2 separate regions of the Homo sapiens genome follow, and region 2 is linked to region 1. The links are contacts of gene promoters, found by promoter capture Hi-C in blood cells and fetal thymus (Javierre and others, 2016). All regions are on one chromosome and are shown on one strand. The core of a region is centred on a gene start or on the middle of the fragment in contact, and the rest is flanking DNA. Distances in the headings are between cores, read along the strand shown. Region 1 holds the start of MPDZ (multiple PDZ domain crumbs cell polarity complex component). Region 2 overlaps LINC00583 (long intergenic non-protein coding RNA 583).

Region 1 (2,681 bases), core at 97-2,596:
CGCACCGCGCAGTAGAGGTCTCCAGGGGCCCCCACTCGCCCCCAGTGACTACGGAGCGGCCTCTACCTCCCGCCGGCGCCTGGCCACTTCTCCTCCCCCGCAGTCTCCGCTTGATTTCCATGTGACTGCAGGCAAGAATAGCCCAGCCTTTGTGCCTCTGCAAAGAACGCAAACAAAAATGTACACCATCACCACCCAACAAACGCGCAACTCCGCAAGACACAAAGCGTCTCCCAAACATCGCTTCCCTGGTAACATCCGGCATCCTGGGGCTGCCAAATCGCAGACAAAGACGCCCATCAGCGCGGGGGGTGAGGAGACTAAGGGAGAGACAAGACCAACGTGCTCCCACCAACGGGAGCGGCGGTTAAAAGGGCGCCGGTGCCAGGGGTGAGGGACGGGGCACCGGTACCAATTAGCGGCTCGCCTCGGGGTCCCCGCGGCTAAGGCGAGAACGCAGGACCAGGAGCATTGCTGCCCACTCTCTACCGCAACCCGCACATCCCGGGACCACGTAACGGCGGATGGGGCGTCCGGGAGCGGCCCCTGCAGGGGAGAGCAACAGGCTCCCGCGCCCTGGAGGCCTGGTCTGCGCTCCGGGCCCCCAGGCTAACACCCCACCCCCAGCCCCCCGACACCAAGACTGTGCCCCTCTGGGTCAAGGAAAAGGAAAAACTTTTAAACCTCTTAGTCAGCGAGAGCAAAAGAAAGGGGTGGCGGGGGTGCTGAAAGGTCTAGGATTATCCACCGCGGGGCTGGGGGGAGTGGAGACTTGCGAGTAGCAAAGGAAACTTCTAGACCCCATCCTTTTAAAAAAGCCACAGCAGCGGCTTCCGCGAAGCGCCGGGCCGCGCGGGGTGGGGCAAGCGCACCGCCCCACCGCCCCACGGCCCGCCGCCACCCCTACCCCCACCCCCACCCCCACCCCCATCCCCGCCCCCACCCCCACCCCCAAGCGCCGAGCCCAGGGCGCCCGCGCACCTTCCCCGCCGGCGCGCGCGCAGGGCGCGGGGGCGCGCCTCGGCCTCTGGGCCGGGGCTCAAGCGCCGCTTACCCGGCTCGCGGCGCCCGCCCAGGGCCGCGACGCGAGGGGGCGGAGGACTGGGGAGCAGGGGTCGCCGGGGCCTCTGGATGCCTCGCCTCGCCCACGCTCACTGTCTTCTCTTCTGAAGTAACGACCCGGCGAGGAGCTTCGGATCAAAACGCACAGACACTCACGCGTGACTGAGAAACTTAATCCCGCGGTGGCCCGACGCCAGCCTAGCGCTCCGCCGCGCCCCCTCCCCCAGCGCGCGCCGCACTTGCGCCGACCGGGGCTGCCGCGGAGGCGGTGGCGGGGCCCAGGCTGCTGGGGCTGCCGTGACGCCTGCGACCGGCGGGGCGGCGGGCGCGCCTTGGCCAATCAGGGGACGCGGCCGAGCAGGCCTGTGCGGGGTTTTAAACTCGCTCCTGGGCCGCTCGACCTGGGGTGTGGGTAGTGGACTTGTGAGGTGGTCAGATAAAATATAGGCTGCTCTGTTAAATGGGAATTTCAAATAAAAAAAAAAAGGAATAATTTTAGTACAAGTATATCCCATGCAATATTTGGGACGTACTTATGCTAAAAAGTTCTTCGTTGTTTATCGGAAATTCAAATTTAATGGCAGTCTTGTATTTTTATCTGCCGATTTTGTCAACCTGCGGAAACTGATAGCCTGTTTCTAGCTCCTCAGATTTTCCTTATGTGCACTGCCCTGTGGATGCTTTCTGCATGGGTAGCTTACTGAATGGCATAGGATGCTTATGAGAAGCGCTTTAATCAGAAGGGTGGGGGCAGTCCTCTCACTTTCTAAGTAACTTTTCGCACATCAGGGTGCATTCTTAGTCTGATGATCCAATTAAAAAGCAAAAACAGTAAACATGGAAAAGTTATTAGAGTTGCATGGCCCCAGGAAGAACAGATATTCATTTCTATTTTGTGCCACTTAAGATTTTCTTTCTGTTATCCTCAATTTGGAAGTCCCACGAATTTTTTTCTGCATAAGAAACTCTTTTTCAAAATATCCCTCTGATATTAGATTATAGGACCAAAGGATACTCAGAAGTCCAATTTAGAACATTTAAAAGAATTTCTTTTAATATTCTGAATAAAAATACTTTTTTCTCATATTCCTTGGACTTTCAAACACATTCACAGCTGTTGACCTCTCTCTTCCTAGAGTCCTCCCCACCCCACCCCTCTTGTAATTCCATGCAATCACACTCTTGGTTTTGCTTCTTCCGCTTAGTCAAGGGCGGATGTATGGGCTCTGAAGCTTGTACAATTGGGAGCTCTGCTTTAACCAAAAAAAAAAAAAAAATCTTTCTTTAGAAAAATTCAAAAAATAAATGCCCATGTAAACACATTGCTAGGGTTGCTCCCAGGCAAGAGAAGGACCCGGAACGTTAAGCTACATCAATTTCCAGGTAGATCTGCCCCTGTCCCCAGGCCACTCTTCAGTCTTCTTTGCCTCCTCTCCCCCAATCTTTAGATGCTGGAATTCCTTAAAAATCAGTTACGGGCCCTCTTTTCCTTTTAACTCTTACCTCTAAATACATTTTCACTTCTAGCTTATGATCTCGTACCTACAGAATCTTACATTTATACCTTCAGATTTATCCATATATTCAAGTGTTTATTTGGCTTCCCTGTTTGCTTGTCT
Region 2 (2,681 bases), core at 129-2,628, 660 kb after region 1:
TGAAATGCTGCATCAAAAAAAATAATAATAATATCAGCCAGTTCCTTCTCTGTGAATTCTAGTTTTCTTCCCCACCCACAGAATCCTACTTGAAAGCTGTGAGATTGATCTCCCTTGCCCAACCCCCTACCTCCTCACCACATTTTCTGCAGAGACGTGTGTACATCTTGCTGCCGCCCAATCTTTTAGAATGTCATTAAGTGTCAAAACATACCTCATTTTATTTCTGATCACAGCTTCTTATGATATGGCTTATTTGGCTCTCATTCTCATCTCAAATCTTCACAAAACTTTTGATTCAATGCAATTTGATTCATGTACTGTGGATTAAAAAGTTACTCATGTAGCAGGCATTGATCTACGAGATTTACATATACTCTGTTATCTAATCCTGGCTGCAGTCCTATCCACTATGTACTACTATTATTATCCCCTTTTTGCAGATAAGGAAACCAAGGCATAGAGATGTTATATATCTTACATGAGGTCAGGAAGCTAGAAGAGACAGAGCCAACAATCTTGCTCAAGCCATCTGTTTCTAGCATGCTCTTATCCCTTCTAATAGGCATTCCCAATGATGTCCAAGGTCTTTCTAATTGACACTGATTACTTTCAATTCTCCTATCACACTTCTGAGCACAACATTGTAGGAAAATTTTTCCAGTTAGTTGGCATATAAAGGTGAAAAGTTTCATTGTCATCAGAGAAAGAAATCATAGCTGACTCCTCCGTTGAATCCATACAATTTGTGTAGCAATTATATTTCCTCCTCTACTCCAATGAAGGCATTTTTAGAACCAAAGTCATATTTTCTGTTTCTTTAAAAACAAAAACAAGCTGAGTGTATCATAGGTATTTTAAAATATGCATGTCTTCTAACTGGATCATACTTAGGTAACTTTTGCTCTGATACGAAAAATGTTTGAGATGCTTTCTCAAATTAAACCAGAGTTTAATTCTTCAGAAAGCAATTAAAAATATTAAATGCTTTTAGATTTTAAGGTCTGTTGCTTCTTTCTGCATCTTCTAGAGAAGTTCCTTGAAAAATTAGCATCGGCTTTACAACAGTCATTCCCATCCTACAAAGAATGACAGACCATATTATTCCTAAGTACGATCCAGTCCCAGGTTCTCTGAAGATTGTTCACTTTGAAAATGAACCCCAGACCACATCTAGGTTACTTTCCAGATAGGATTTTGCAAGTATATAAGAGATTAATTTTCTTGAACAATTTCAGGCTTGGTATGCAAAGTCAAACATGTAATCAGGTGCAGACGTTGTACCAGACACCTCAGTAGGATGTCTTGAAGTTCCCCTGGAATGTAGTGGTGAACTGGTTAAAAAAATAATTATAAGACTAGCGGTAAGGTTTTGGCTGAATACTACTTTTGTCCAGTATCAATCAATTAAAATGAAAGAATTTTTATGGTTGTTCAAACAAATATCCGGGTCCATCTGTGGCTATTTTATTTATGGCATTGCTGTTTTTCACCAACAACAAGTTGGCTAAAAATCAGGTTTTAAAATCTTAATTAGAATCAAAACATGATCTTCTCATTTAACGCCTCCGTTCAAGTTCATGTTACTGCTGTGTAGAAAACGGAGTCTGCTTTCTGGAGGCAGATCCTGACTCCTGCACCATGGTAATCTACACAGCCGGCCCACAGCTGAGGGATGAGCTGTATTTCTTTAAGTATTTTTATTAGGCTGATTCCCACAAGTTTAAGAACACTGTAATCGGAGACACTGCAAGGCCACATTAAAATAAGAGGAGGAAACTGAACTCTCATTCAACCCGTTTCCATGAAGTTTAGAATTTTCAACTCATTTCAAAGCAGAGGATGTTCCTTTTCACATCCTTCATGTTTTGTAAACACTGCAAGTGCTACTGGCTTCGTTTTCATTAGTAGGAGCCACCAGCTTATGTTTATTATTTTTAATTATTAGACCTTCTGCAAAGAGAACACTACTGCTGACAATTTATATTAGTGATGATGCATCCTGATTGGTCAGAGGTGTTATTCCCTCCTTCTTTCCTCACTAGTAATGTTTGTGATTATTTATAACCTCCACATTTTGGTGTGTCGTGTTTTTCCCCCAAACAATTTTCTGTGACACCAGTTAACAATGCGTAATTACGATAACCAAGGCTGGGTCTATCTGATGCCGAAGCATCCGGTTGGAAGGCGAAATTTAGTCAAACATCTGAATGTTTGAGCTGCATAGGGCCAAACATCTGGATGTTCCCAAATATTTTCTCAAATATTTGGAAACATCCACAGATTTCTCCTTGTGTAGACAAAACATCCAGATGATTAACTGAATGCTTCTCTTTTCATCTGGATATTTGGCCACTGAATTTTCTTTGGGTTCTCTATATAAGAATATCTATCCAGCTGTTTTACATAGCCATTGCTACACCAAAACAAGAAACACAGGGAAAAAACACATCCTATTGCTCCAAGGCAAGTCTATCTAGTTTTCAGTAATTGTGACAAACACCACACTGAAGCATAAATTACCTCCAGAAGGAGAAATCTTTCTGTAGTCTCCTCTTATCCACGGTTTTGATTTCTGTGGTTTCTGTTACCTGCGGTCAACCATGGTCCAAAAATATCAAATGGAAAATTCCAGAAATAAAGAACTCATAAGTTTTACATTGCTCACCATTCTGAGTAGT

Evidence for each region. Contacts are between HindIII fragments. The CHiCAGO score rates a contact against its expected background, and 5 or more counts as called.
Region 2: a contact is called between a fragment that was not itself captured here and the fragment with the promoter of MPDZ in region 1, in 3 of 17 cell types (total CD4 T cells, endothelial precursors and activated CD4 T cells). The highest score is 5.2, in total CD4 T cells.

What each region holds. Positions count from the first base shown.
Region 1 is chr9:13,278,346-13,281,026 of GRCh38, forward strand. MPDZ (multiple PDZ domain crumbs cell polarity complex component) reads right to left here and starts at 1,347. Exons shown (of 47, transcript NM_001378778.1): 1 at 1,055-1,347. RefSeq lists enhancers at 1-254, 255-970. The HindIII fragment of the contact is 3,139 bases long and covers 1-2,292 here.
Region 2 is chr9:13,940,189-13,942,869 of GRCh38, forward strand. All of the region lies in intron 1 of LINC00583 (long intergenic non-protein coding RNA 583), which reads left to right. LOC101929507 (a long non-coding RNA gene) reads right to left here. Exons shown (of 8, transcript XR_001746621.2): 5 at 215-320. Among named protein-coding and RNA genes, the nearest start is that of LINC00583, 14 kb to the left of the region's middle. RefSeq lists an enhancer at 1-176. The HindIII fragment of the contact is 4,835 bases long and covers 1-2,681 here.